Regions from separate parts of the Homo sapiens genome. Here region 2 is linked to region 1. The links are contacts of gene promoters, found by promoter capture Hi-C in blood cells and fetal thymus (Javierre and others, 2016). All regions are on one chromosome and are shown on one strand. The core of a region is centred on a gene start or on the middle of the fragment in contact, and the rest is flanking DNA. Distances in the headings are between cores, read along the strand shown. Region 1 holds the start of AQP5 (aquaporin 5). Region 2 holds the start of FAIM2 (Fas apoptotic inhibitory molecule 2).

Region 1 (6,354 bases), core at 3,518-6,017:
GGTCGGGAAAAGTACCCCTGTTTTGCAGATAAGGTCCTTAAAGCTCAGAGAGCTTATGTTGCCCCAAGTTTCACGGCCAGATTGGAATGAGGGTAGTTACTGACTCCAGGCTGGGCTCACTGCGAAGCTGGGCTATGCGGAGCTGTTCACTGCATGACCCCCCGCCTTTTCCTCACAGAAAGCTGACTGGTCCCAGGCATCTCATGCCCTCATCTGGTCCCCACAACTATCTTGTGAGGAAAGTGATATTTTATCCCCATTTTACAGATGAAGAGAGGGAGGCTCTGAGAGTTTAAGGAGGTTACCTAAGGAGTGTCAGTGACAGTGGGACAAGAGCAGGCTAGGACAGAGCTCAGGCCCAGAGGAGAGGACGGTGGGGACACTGGTGGGCCAAGGCATGAGAAGCCCTGGAAAAGGGGGCTGGGCCACATGTGGCTTCTGGGGGGGTCGGGGGGCTGCTCCCTCTGGGCACAGGCTCCCAGCAGGACACCTTTTTGAAAGACCAAGGTGCAGAGAAACGAGCCCAGGGCTGTGATGGAACCTGGCTGGTCACCCCCTTGCCATCTCGAGGGGCTGCGGTTGGCTCACTCCTCCGCCCTGCCTGTCACACCCTGGTACTCCCCTCAAGTGCCAGCCAAGCCCTCCTCAAGTGGCAGGGACTTGATTGACATGGCTGAGGGGGAGGGGTGGAGGGTGACTGCAGTGAGGACCCCTCCTTCCTGGCCTCTAGCTCTATTTTGATATTCGGTCTTCTCTCAGTCTCTCCCTGCTCTGTTCCCATCTCTCTGATTCTCTGGGCCTCCCATGGTCACAGTCTCCCTTTCTTCCCACAGAGCACTTGTCCTGGGGTCCCCTGGTACCCTGTGGAGATCGTGGTGGAGGATGTGGGATGACAAAGAGGAGAGGCAATGGGCCAGAGTGTCTCAAGGCACTCTGAGGAGAGACAGAGGTGGAACGTGAGTATCAGTGATTTATTGGGTAGCCCCCACTCTAAACACCAGCAGCCCCACGCATGCATCCTCACCAGAAATAAATAAGGCGGCATTCAATGAACCAGTCTGTCTTCTTCCTAAGGAGCTCTGGGGAGGGTCTGCCTCTGCCCACCTAGGGGCTGGGATCCCTTCAGCTCTTGAGGAAGGGTTGGGGAAGGTGGGGGGTGCAGGCTGCAGGCCCGCCCTTTTCTGGCCTGGCCCTTGCAGCCTGTGAGCTTGGCACTGCATTCACAATCTCTGAGGTCTGTCCCAGAGAGACCTGTCCCCAGCAGACCCCAGCCCCTGGCCCCTACCCCAGGAGTCCCATCATGGGTTCCTTCTCCCCTCTCTAACTGTGCAGCCAGGGTGACCAGCTCCTCCTCCTCAGCCAAGAGGACCGGTTGTGCAAAAAGGAAGCTTGTGTTAGGTACTTTTTCTTCTTTTCCCCCTTGGCTCAGGGGCTGAGGGGCTGGCCCCTGCCTGACACTGGTCAGCGGGTGGTCAGCTCCATGGTCTTCTTCCGCTCTTCCCGCTGCTCCTCCCAGTCCTCGTCAGGCTCATACGTGCCTTTGATGATGGCCACACGCTCACTCAGGCTCAGGGAGTTGGGGAAGAGCAGGTAGAAGTAAAGGATGGCAGCCAGGACCGCCCCCACGATGGGCCCTACCCAGAAAACCTGGTGGAGACAGGGCAGGAGTCAGGGCGCTGAGCCCCAGACCTTGAAGACCACATGCCCCCCACCCCACAGAGGACAGACCCACGGACCCTGAGAGGAGACAGACATGCAGACTTCCAGACCTTCAGGGAGAAAGACTTCCTCCCACCTCGGGGACGAATATACTGACACACCACTCCCAGGGACAGAGACATGGACCACAGACACCTAGACCCTCAAAGAAGGCAAACAGATTCCCAGAGGGACAGGCTCCCTCCAACCACACCGGAAAGAGAAGCAAATAAACCTTCAGAGGGGACACGTGGGTCCTCAGAGAGACGGATGAACAGAGCGCGTGTCCCCTCCACGCAGGGATAGAAGCAGACCCTGGAGAGAGTGACCATGAGCTTCCAAAGGGGGGGCAGACAGACTGTCCACAGGGACAGACCCACAGGAAGACTCTCCCAACCCCCTCAACAGGGACAGATAAATAAAACATCAGAGAGGACCAGCACGCAGACACCGAGGGGGACGGACACCAAATCCTCAAGGGAATTGACACAGAGCCCCTCTGCACCTCCAGGTTCAGTAGAGCCTCTTCCATAAGCGGATAGATACTCAGACTCCCTGTCCCCAGCGGTTCAGGCCATACAAAGCCACCTCTGCCCCTCTAGCTGAATCCCATCCCCTACTGTGTCCCTTTCTCTGTCAGCCACCACTCCGTGGCCCACCCCCAAGCTCTAGACCCACAGAATCCAGGTCTGGTGAGCTCTGAGCTGCCACTGCTGGGTCTCCAGGCCCTCATCTCCAGGGAGCCAGGGGAAGGGACAGACTCACCCAGTGAGCGGGGCTGAACCGATTCATGACCACCGCAGGGCCAAAAGAGCGGGCTGGGTTCATGGAGCAGCCAGTGAAGTAGATCTGGATAGAGACAGGGCGGTGGAGAGAAAGGCAACATCCTGGTCCACTCCCACAGAATCTGGACTCTCTCAAGGTTACACTGCAGTCCAGGGGCTCAGCCAGGTCTCAAACTCAGGCTGGCAACCTCTCCCTCCAAGGATCCCAGCTGCTTGGTTAACCATGGACCCTTAACTACGCCCTCCTCTCTTCTCTGCTCTGAGGTTGGGTTTGATTCCTGTCCCATCCCACCTCCTACTTACTCCCATCTTTCCTCAGCCCAGAGGTTTTGGGGGGATCAATTCTGGGGCCCAGTAGGGCCAGAGTCCAGGAGCCCTAAATCCAGGCCTTAAACTCTGCTGGACTCATCCATCTGAAGTGGGCTCCGCTCCAGGGCTCCATTATTTGCCTTGAGTGCCTGCCCCACCCTCACCCCAGCCCAATGTCGGTACTGCTCACTCCGACAAGGTGGCCCAGGGTGACAGACAGGCCAATGGACAGGGCTGGGGAGCCCACAGGGCTGGTGCGGCGGGAGTCAGTGGAGGCGAAGATGCAGAGTGCCAGCTGGAAGGTCAGAATCAGCTCCACCACCATGGCCTGGCCCTGCGTTGTGTTGTTGTTGAGCTGCAAGGGGATAGCGGGTTAGGACCCCGGCCACCTTCTGGCTGTATAGCCAGGGGCTCGGGGAGTAGGGCTTTTGGCCTCCAGGGACACTTAGAGCACCTTGGCACCTGGAAGCCAAGTCCTGTGGACATCGCCCCAGCGAAGCCATTTGTTAAAGACACTGTACATTTCATAGTTTGCACAGGCTTGAAGCTCAGGCCTGTGGCCAAAGGGCAGAGCGTCAGGGTAGCTTTTCCTGGACACGGGCCTATCAATGGCTCTGCCCAACCCCCAGCCCCCATAAGCTGGCATTTACCCTCCATCCTGTGGGCAGCTGCCCGGTTTGCCTGCCTCACACCCCATCCCGGCCTCCTGCCCGTGCCTGGCCCCATGCCAGTGCCAGCCTTAAACCCGTCTCTCCAGTGCGGCTGACTCACAGCTTGACAATGGCCAAGCAAATCCTCCTCTGTGTTTGATTAATGAACCCAGTTTGCATGGGGTTGGGGGCTGACTCTGGGGCTGCAGGAGGTGGGAGGGAGGCAGGGGTGCGGGGTTGAGGGGAGGAGCACAGGTTGGGGAAAGAGGGAACCAATACTCAACAGAAACTGCTCTGCACTGGCCCCACATTAGGGGGTTCCTATCTACGGTTTCTAAATGTGAGCCCCTTGACACCTGCTGTGGCAGACACAACCATCCCCATGGAGGCGCTGAGAACAATGAAGCACAGACAGGCCAGGGTCACCCAAAGCCGTGATGACAGCCCGCTTTTCTCTGGTGGTTCTACTCAACCGCTCCACTGAGGTGATGGGAGAGGTGAGGGGCCCAGGAGGAAGGTGGAGCTCAAAGGTGAGACAGGAGGAGGCAGAAGTTTCTGGCAGGAGAGGAGGGGTAGCAGGCATTGGAGAGAGACCAGGGTGGGCCAGCATGAGGGGAGGGGGAGAGGAGGTGGGCAGGAAGGGAGCACATATCAGCCTGGAGAGTTGCCTTCCTGGCCTTGGGAGGCTCTTGCCTTCCTGGTGAAGGGTGTGGGCTGGCCCACTCTGCGGCACCCCTTTTTTCCAGGTGGGGTAAGAGGCCTGGTCCTGAGCCCACCCCAGGGTCGAGGCTCCCACCCCCCCCCCAGGGCACTCACCGCGTTGACGGCCAGATTGCCCCGGGCATTGAGCGGTGCCACACCGTAGAGGATGCCAGCCCCGGCAATGGCGCCCACCAGCTGGGCCGCCACGTAGAAGAAAGCCCGGAGCAGCGAGATCTGGTTGCCCACCAAGAGGGCCAGGGTGATGGCGGGGTTGATGTGGCCGCCGCTCACGGGTCCCAGGGCCTGGGCCAGCGTGCCTATGGCCAGGCCAAACGCCAGCGCGATCTGCAGGATGGTAGGCAGCGCCGACGGCCACTTGAGGGCCGAGCCCAGGCCAAAGAAGACGAAGATGAGGGTGGCCAAGAACTCTGCGAACACGGCCTTGAGGAAGGCCACGGAGCACACCTCCTTCTTCATGGTGGCCGCGGGGGCCCGGCGGCAGCTGCCGCGGCGGGGGGCGCCCGTTGGGTCGCAGGCGGCGGAGGAGGTGGATGCGGCGGGGGCGGGGGCCTGGCTGCGGGGCGCCGCGCACTGTCCCGCGCCCACTCCGAGGCTGGCGGCCTGGCGCGGGCCCTGCTGGGGCGCGCTATATAGGGGGCGGGCGGCCGGGCGCGGGGCCGGCGCGGGGGGGCAGGGGGCGGCTCCTACGCTCGGGGGCCAGCGCGGCGCGCGGGTTGGGAGGCTCCAGGCCGCTGCGGGCCCGCCGCTCTCCGTCGTCCAGCGCAACCCCGGCGCGACCCCCGCCCCCCGGCCGGGGCAGCCGCCGGCCCGTCCGGGCCACGTGACCCAGGCGGCGGTGTAGACCGGCCCAGCGTCCCGGGCCCTGCGCATGATGCGCCCAGGTTGGCTCCCGCGCTCTCCTCGGTGCCGTGCGCCCCGGACTCCCTGGGAGACGGGGCTCGGTCCCGGCGCTTCACTCCGACCTCGGGGCGTCTAGCTCCGCCGGCCTTTACCGCGCTCCGTGCGCGGCCTTCCCCTTTTCTTCTCTTCGGGCTTTTGGTCCAGCTCCTCCTTTTCCTCCTGCGACCGGAGCATCCTGACCCGCCTCACCCCCGGCTGGGTCGGAGTGATGCTCGTCCCGCAGGTCGGCGCCGCTCACCTCCCTCACCGCCGGCGGCGGGGGCGGGCGGCCGGGCTGGGTCCTGCAGGGCGGTCCGGCCGTCCGACGTGGGCCGCTCCCGGCCTGGGCCGGGCGAGCTTCTGGGCTTGGAAGGCTGGCGTTTTGGGAAAAGTGGGCACCGTGCCAGCCTGCCCCGACGCTTCGCAATCCTCGACGCCCGGTAGCTGGGCAGTACCTGGACTAGGCAACGGATCCCCGGAGGCGCCCTCTCCCAGGCCGGGGTTCCCCTTGTCGACGGGACGGGACGGGGGTGTGACGTGAGGCCTTGAGACTCTGGGAGTTGGAGTGGGGGAGCAGGGGGGGTAGAGACGCACCACTGACCTCCCAAGCGCGGTCTTGGCGTCTTCCCTCTTCCTGCTAGAAGCCCCTCACCCTGGATCTAAGACTCTCCTTCTCTTCCTCCACCTCCCCTAAGTCTCCTTCAAACCCTCACTTGGTCTTGATCTCTCTCCCCTCGAAATCTGTTTCTGTCAGTCAGTCTTTGCAAAACCCTATTTCTCTTTTTGTCTCTGTCTTTGGTCTCTGACCCTCTCCCTCTGCCAGCCTCTTCCTCTCGGTCTCTCTCCGAGAGGTCTCTTTCTCATTTCAGTCTCTCTGTTCTCCACCTCTCCATCTCTCTCTCTCTCACACCTTCTCATTTTCTGTTTTTCCTTCCTGCCTTTTGCTGTCTTAGTCTCTCTGTCTCTCTCTATTCATTTCTCTCATCCTGCAGTTTCTGTCTCCTGGCTATTTTCACCTTTCCTCTGCCTCTTAATTTTTGTGCCTTTCTTTGTTTCTGTCTGTTTCTACCTCATTTTCCATGTCTCTCTCTCTTACATGTGGTCTTTCTCAGTCTCCCCAAAGTCAAGTTCTTCTACCCCTGGTCTGGGTGACACTTTCTTCCAGTTCCCATCCCCCTTCCCTCTGAGCTTGTAACCCCTTTGTGACCTGCTGCCTCCTCGCACACCACCCTCTCCCTCTTCCCACCCACTCCAGGTCGGGCATGTGGAGAACGAGGCTGGAGGGCTCTCTAGGGCTTAGAGGGGGAGGA
Region 2 (6,942 bases), core at 4,426-6,925, 58 kb after region 1:
CGGGAAGGGATGTGGTCCTCCCCCTGAACACAGTGCATGGTGCCTCCTGGGGCTGCGCAGGGAGGAGGCCTTGCCCGGACCTCTCTCCTGGGCACCAGGAACCTCTGGCCAACTGCCTACAGGACATCTCCACCTGGATGTCCTACAGGCCCTCAAACTCAACCTGACCCCCGCCCAAGCACCTCAGCTCCTTTCCCTTTTCATAATGGTATCATTCTCCCAGGGACTCAGTCTTCACACCTTTGCCCTTTTTGATGCCCCTTCTGCCTTTCTCTCACTTCTACTGTCTTCCCAAGTCCTGTCGGTCCTGTCCCATGCTGTCCCTTTTCTCCATCTTTTCTGCCCCTGGATCACGTGTCTTATTTTCTAGTGATCAAACATGTTTACAGCATGTGTTAGATGGCTGGCTCTGCTCTAAGTGCCTTACAAATCCTAACTCTCCTCATTCTCACAACCTTCAGTTTACAGAGGATGAAACTGAGGCACAGAGAAGTCAAGCGTCTTGTGCAGGGCCAGGATTGGGACCCACGCAGCCTGCTCCAGAGCCGGGCTCTGACCCTCCACAAGAGCCATCACTAAAGTTCCACTTACCGCTGCACCTTCAATCTCTTCCTCTCTCCATCCCTCCCACATGTTCACAGACAAAATCTTCTTCCTTATTTAATAAAACAATATAATGACCAGCCTGGCAAACATGGTGAAACCTCACGTCTACTAAAAATAGAAAAATTAGGCCTGGCGTGGTGGCTTACGCCTGTAATCCCAGCACTTTGGGAGGCCAAGGTGGGTGGATCACCTGAGGTCAGGAGTTCGAGACCAGCCTGGCAAACATGGTGAAACCCCGTCTCTACTAAAAATACAAAAATTAGCTGGGCATGATGGTGGTGACTATAATCTCAGCTACTTGAGAGGCTGAGGCAGGAGAATCGCTTGAACCCAGGAGACAGAGGTTGCAGTGAGCGGAGATCGCACCACTGCACTCCAGCCTGGGTGAGAGAGTGAGACTCCACCTCAAAAAAAAAAAAAAAAGAAAAAAAGAGAAAACAATGTAATAGCAAAAATTACTACAGAGGTTGGTCTTTCTTATCTTTTTTTTTTTTTTTTTTTTTTTTGAGGCTGAGTTTCACTCTTATTGCTCAGACTAGAGTGCAGCAGTGCAATCTTGGCTCACTGCAACCTCTGCCTCCCAGGTTCAAGCGATTCTCCTGCCTCAGCCTCCCGAGTAGCTGGGATTACAGGCATGTGCCACCACATCCAGCTAATTTTTTTTTATTTTTAGTAGAAACGGGGTTTCGCCATGTTGATCAGGCTGGTCTCGAACTCCTGACCTCAGGTGATCCATCCACCTTGGCTTCCCAAAGTGCTGGGATTACAAGCATGAGCCACTGCGCTTGGCCTGGTTGGTCTTTCTGAAGCATGACTTTAAACACGTCATTTCCATGTTCAATAAAACCTTGAGGCCAGGCACAGTGACTTACTCCTGTAATCCCAGCCTTTGGGAGAGCGAGGTAAAAGGATCGGTTGAGCCCAGGAGTTCGAGGCCAGCCTGGACAACATAGTGAGATCTTGTCTGTACAAAAAATAAAATTAACCAGGCATGGTGGTGCAGGCCTGTAGTCCCAGCTACTTGGGAGGGTAAGATGGGAAGATCGCTTGAGCCTGGGAGGTTGAGGCTGACGTGAGCCATGATTGTGCCACTGCATTCCAGCCTGGGCGATAGAGTGAGATTCTGTCTCAAAAATTAAATAAATAATAAAATAAAATAAAGCTTGAAACTCCCCATTACTTTCCCGCCTTGTACAAACAGAATAAAGCCTATCATGGGGTGGAGATTTGAGGATGTTACCCCAACAACCTCCCCAGCTCCCCTGGGGAGCCCCTTACTGTTTCTGACTCCCTTGAGGCACTATTCTCCCAGCCCTCAGCCACCCCAGCACTGCCTGTCCCCTCCTGCCCGGGGGTGAGTCTGAAGGGATCTCATTCTTCTTGAAGAATGGCTTCTACCAAATGTGTCAACAGGGACAGAGACCACAGACATGACAAATGAATGAACAAATGAGTAACTGTGGAACTGAGCTGCCTTATGTGGTGGAAATTATTTCATTAAACAATATTTGTGGAACCCTTAAGGCTAACACTAATAGCTAACACCAAGAGCTTATTGTGTGCTTATAGTCATCAAACATGCATAGAGCATGTGTTAGATGCCTGGTTCTGTTCTAAGTGCCTTACAAATCCTAACTCTCCTCATTCTCACAACTTTCACAACTCATCTCTCACAAGCTCTCATACAGCTTTTAAATAGAGGAGCCGGGATCTGGAGCAAAGCTGCTTGACTGTGTAGCCTTGGCTTTTGACTACCACACCTAACTATCACCAGATCCCAGAGGAATGTTACACGAATGTTTAATATTTGAGTAATGTCAGCTGGGCACGGTGGCTCATGCCTGTAATCCCAGCACTTTGGGCGGCTGAGGCGGGCAGATCACCTGAGGTCAGGAGTTCGAGACCAGCCTGGCCAACGTGGTGAAATTCTGTCTCTACCAAAAATAGGAAAAGTAGCCAGGCGTGGTGGTGTGCGCCTGTAGTCCCAGCTACTCAGGAAGCTGAGGCAGGAGAATCGCTTGAACCTGGGAGGCGGAGGTTGCAGTGAGCTGAGATCGTGCCACTGCACTCCAGCCTGGGCAACAAGAGCAAAACTACACCTCAAAACAAAAATTTTTTTGAGTAATATCCAAAGACCACCTCATGGGAACATATACCCTAGTTACTTGGGAGGCTGAGGCAGGAGGATGCTTGAGCCCAGAAATTCAGACTGTAACAAGCCATGATCATACCACTGCACTCCAGCTTAGGCAACACAGCGAGACCCTGTCTCAAAAAAAAGTTGGGGGGACATATACACAATGTCAAGGTAATAGAGTCCAACATCTGAGAAACATCATAGCACTGACAATGTCAACATGTCTGAGGAATATAAGGATTTTGTATAATGCTGTACTTTACTCAACCAAATACTTATCAACCCACCACATCCATGTCAGTCACTATTTTAACCCACAGGTGTAAAGCAATGACACAACACCCCCAAACTCCTCCTCTTCTGTAGCTGACGTTCTAATGGGAGAGAGAGAGAGAACAAAACAAAACAAAACAAAACATGTCAGAGGTGACAATTGACATAGAAAACATAAAGCTTAATCAGAAAAAAGGGACTGTCCAATTTGCTGGGTGGGGGTATGCGGGTGGCACTGCTACTTTGTATAAGATCAGGAAGACCACCCCTGAGATAATGTCTGAGCAGAGTAGTGAAGTTAGTGAGGGAGGGAGCCACGCAATGATCTGTAGAATTTCCAAACAAGACACAGCCAGTGCAAAGGGCCTCAGCTAAGCGCATGCTCAGCCCAGTCTAAGGAATGGCCAAGAGGCCTGTGTGGCTGGAGCAGAGTGAATGCGAGAGAAGGAACAGGAGTGATTCACAAACATGAAAGTGCTAAGGCTGATGAAAGTCAGGCTCTGCGTAGTGCCATGTCTGGGAAATATTACTAGCTACAATTGATGGAGTGCATTCCACACACCTGGCACTGCATTCAGTCCAGCTCACACCAAAACTGCTACAGGAGCTTAGAGTGTAACAGGGAGTCAGTCAAAGAAACTTCACAGCGCCACGTGACAGGCGTTACATCAGGGTGCTAGGGAACTACAGAAGAGGAGCATCTAACCCCAACTAGGGGGGGAAGGAGGCTTCCTGGAGGAGGTGGCATTCAAGCTGTCAAGCAGGAGAAGGAAAACACTTCCAGGATGCAGATGCAGAGAAGGAGGGAAGGCCAGAACCTGGACCAGCTGGTCAGAGCTCCAGGTGCAGTGCTGGGGACCAGGGCACAGCTTGCTGGAAGAAGAGCTCGGGTTTGTAGGGTTGAGAGAGCCTCTGGACACGGAGGCCCAGGCTTAAGTGTGTTTGTGCAAAATTGGTGGTTATGGAGTGGGGGACAAAGGGCAAAAAGGGGTGGGATAAAGACTTTGATAATTAGGCCAGGCACGGTGGCTCACACCTGTAATCCCAGCACTTTGGGAGGCTGAGGAGGGTGGATCACTTGAGGTCAGGAGTTGGAGACCAGCCTGGCCAACATGGTGAAACCCTGTCTCTACTAAAAATACAAAATTAGCCGGGCGTGGTGGTGCGCGCCTGTAATCCCAGCTACTCAGGAGGCTGAGGCAGGAGAATCACTTGAACCCGGAAGACAGAGGTTGCAGTGAGCCAAGATTGTGCCACTGCACTCCAGCCTGAGCAACAGAACAAGATTTTCTCTGTAAAAAAAAAAAAAAAAAAAAAAAAAAAGACTTTGATAATTTGTCTGCCTACCTGGGCCCTGCTTTCTCAGGGACTTTAGGTGGGTCCCTGGGCAGTGAGAGGGAAGCAGAAGGTAAGTGGCCACCCCCACCTGTCCCAGGTCTTAGTTTCTCGTCCCATCCTAGCAGGTTCAGATACTTCTTTTAGGCAGATTTGTGGGTGCTCGCTCTGGGGCAGCCCAGGACATTCTGGTAGGAGACTCCTCAGTTAATAATACCTCACATACTTCCAGCACTTCTTGGTCTTTTATGTGCTTTTACGGCCATAACCTGTGCGTCTGACAGTCAATCTAGGATGGACAGAGCTCTGTTCTAAGCCTCTTTTTCGTAGGAGCTGCAGCTCAGAGAGGTTAAGGGCCTTGCCAAGGCCACGCGGCCAGTGGGTGACTAAATTGGGACTTGATCCCAGCTCTTGAGATTGCAAACCCCATAGTGACACTGCAGCAGCTACAGAAAACGGGGCCTGATGATGGCTGGGTCCCAGTGACACGTCTGGGGAAGCGGGGAGAACGAGCTCTGGCATGGGAGGAATGGAAAAGGGGGGAAGATGGAGACGGGGTGATGGAAGCTAAGCGTGGAGGCAGGAAGAGAGCTCTGGCAGGGGTTGTAGAGGCTTTGAGACAGAACTAGCGGTGTCTCCAGAAAGACCCCGTGAAATGTCCCAGCAGGGCTGAAAGAAACAGAAGAGGTGTCCTCCCACCCCATGTCTCTGTGAACCAAGGCAGGGAGGGACCTACTGTGTGCATTTCACAGGCGAGAAAAAGGAGCAAGGATAGGTGGCTATTGGCTTGCCCCAGGCCCACAGGAGCGCAGGGCCCAGGGGCCCTGTTAGAAGCGGGCAGCACAGGCGAGACTTCCAGACCTTCCCCTCTACCAGGGATGATGAAATAGATGATGAGAGGGGAGGTGGAGATGGAGACAGAAATCAGGGCCGCATCCAAAGAGGGAGGAGGAAAAGGCAGAGGCGCAGCTGGAGCTGCAGAGAGGTGCAGAGACAGTGGAGATGAGGCCCTGATGCCCGGCTCTGGTTTCACGCGGGCAGCGTCAGCTGGTCGGTGTCACGGAGTTCCCGCGTCCTCCGCCCGCTCAGCCCCCGCGGACCCATCCACTGGGGTTGCTCCGCAGCGCGACTCTCTCTCATCCCGGGGGAGGGCTAAGGGCGGCGGTGGGGGGCGGGGTGGGGGGGAAGCGGCGGGAGGGGGCGGTGCGCCGCCGCCTTACCCCGGGCTCGCGAATCCGCAGCGTCCTCCGCAGCATCTTCCCAGGCCCGGCCCTCTCCTCCCCCCGCGCCGATGGTACGCGCCGGCTCGCCTGGCCCGGCTGCAGTGGATGTTGCTAGAACCCACGCGGAGGAAGGAAGAGACGCAGGCAGGCTGCGGTTACCCAAGCGGCCACCCGGGCCTCAGGGACCCCTTCCCCGAGAGACGGCACCATGACCCAGGGAAAGGTACCGGCATCTCCCCAGCCTGCACCATCCTCCATCCTCCGGCTCCCGGCTCCCTGTCATCCTCAGCAAGCCCTCTGGACCACGAAAGCATCCTCCCCTGGCCCTAGTTTGAAGGTCCTCCGTGGTCCTTGCTGAAGTCAGAGGACCGAAAGGCCGGTGTCAAGGAATGGACCGAGGCCTCTTCCTGCCCGCAGGCGCGCCTCTCCTCCCCTGTCACCCTGCCACCCCTGCTTTGGCATTACAGCATTACAAGGCTCCTCACAGATACCCAGGCCCCCCGTGAGGAGTCAGCCCGGGCGTCTGGTGTGACTGTATGTGTGTGCATGGGTATGTGTGTGCCAGGGTGAGCCCTGAGGGGCAGTGCCTATCGGGCAACCCCCTCTGGCCCAACCCTCCAGTCCCAAACCCAACCACTTTATGCTCATCTTTCCCACCCTCCACGGAAACAACCCCCACCCTACTCCCTGCCATTGTTCCACATCTGGGCGTCTTGGCTCCATCCCTGTGCTTGGGGCTTGCTATGACAACTCTGCATCAAGATGCTCTAATTGTTGTTTTGGTTTTGGCCAGGCATGGATGGGTCCGGATGAAGCATCTCTTCTCCAGTTTTAGGCCTGAATTGTAGGGGAGGGGCTGGGGCAGAGACTCGGCTGGCCTAGTAGGCTTATGTAACATCAATAGCCTGTGGAATTATACAACCACTAGGGCCTGGGGCTAAGGGGGAGGGTACTCGGGCCCTCTGTTTGGGTTGCTAAGGATTGGGCAGAGAAAACAGGGGAAGGACCTCCCCTACACTCCCCCTTCTTCTCTTTGAGAGGAGCTTCAGAGCCAATGACATCCTTCCCTGGACCCTCAGACCCTCCTCTCCCTGTATGCAAGCTCTTTGGGCCTCAAATGATGTCACTGGGTGATACCACCTCCCGCCATTGGTCACACCTCACTTGGGAGTGCCGTATGTGTGTCGGGGGCCTGGGCATTAGGGTCCAGGAGGCTCTGGGGGGCGGAGTGGCAGGGTGGAGGCTGAACTCGATTTAGGTGGACATGATCCTTCAGATCCGGGTGATGAGGGGGGCTGGGGAGTGGGAGGCAGTGGGAGGCCTGGGGAGTGTTCAGTTCCGTAAACATGGAGAACTCACCCCTTCTGC

The links. The method cuts DNA at HindIII sites, captures the fragments that hold promoters and counts their contacts. A CHiCAGO score of 5 or more calls a contact.
Region 2: the fragment with the promoter of FAIM2 here is called in contact with the fragment with the promoter of AQP5 in region 1 in 7 of 17 cell types (M2 macrophages, M0 macrophages, endothelial precursors and 4 more); the score reaches 11.4 in M2 macrophages.

Annotation. Positions count from the first base shown.
Region 1 is chr12:49,960,285-49,966,638 of GRCh38, reverse strand. AQP5 (aquaporin 5) reads right to left here and starts at 4,767. Exons shown (of 4, transcript NM_001651.4): 1 at 4,259-4,767; 2 at 2,983-3,147; 3 at 2,464-2,547; 4 at 957-1,647. The coding sequence starts at 4,621. The coding sequence ends at 1,462. It overlaps AQP5-AS1 (AQP5 and AQP2 antisense RNA 2), which reads left to right and starts at 3,856. Exons shown (of 3, transcript NR_110591.1): 1 at 3,856-3,972. LOC105369764 (a long non-coding RNA gene) reads left to right here. Exons shown (of 3, transcript XR_001749143.2): 2 at 834-956; 3 at 1,720-2,137. RefSeq lists an enhancer at 1-9. The HindIII fragment of the contact is 7,065 bases long and covers 1,391-6,354 here.
Region 2 is chr12:49,902,633-49,909,574 of GRCh38, reverse strand. FAIM2 (Fas apoptotic inhibitory molecule 2) reads left to right here and starts at 5,675. Exons shown (of 12, transcript NM_012306.4): 1 at 5,675-5,797. The coding sequence starts at 5,783. It overlaps LINC02396 (long intergenic non-protein coding RNA 2396), which reads left to right. Exons shown (of 2, transcript NR_146570.1): 2 at 462-693. The HindIII fragment of the contact is 12,443 bases long and covers 3,199-6,942 here.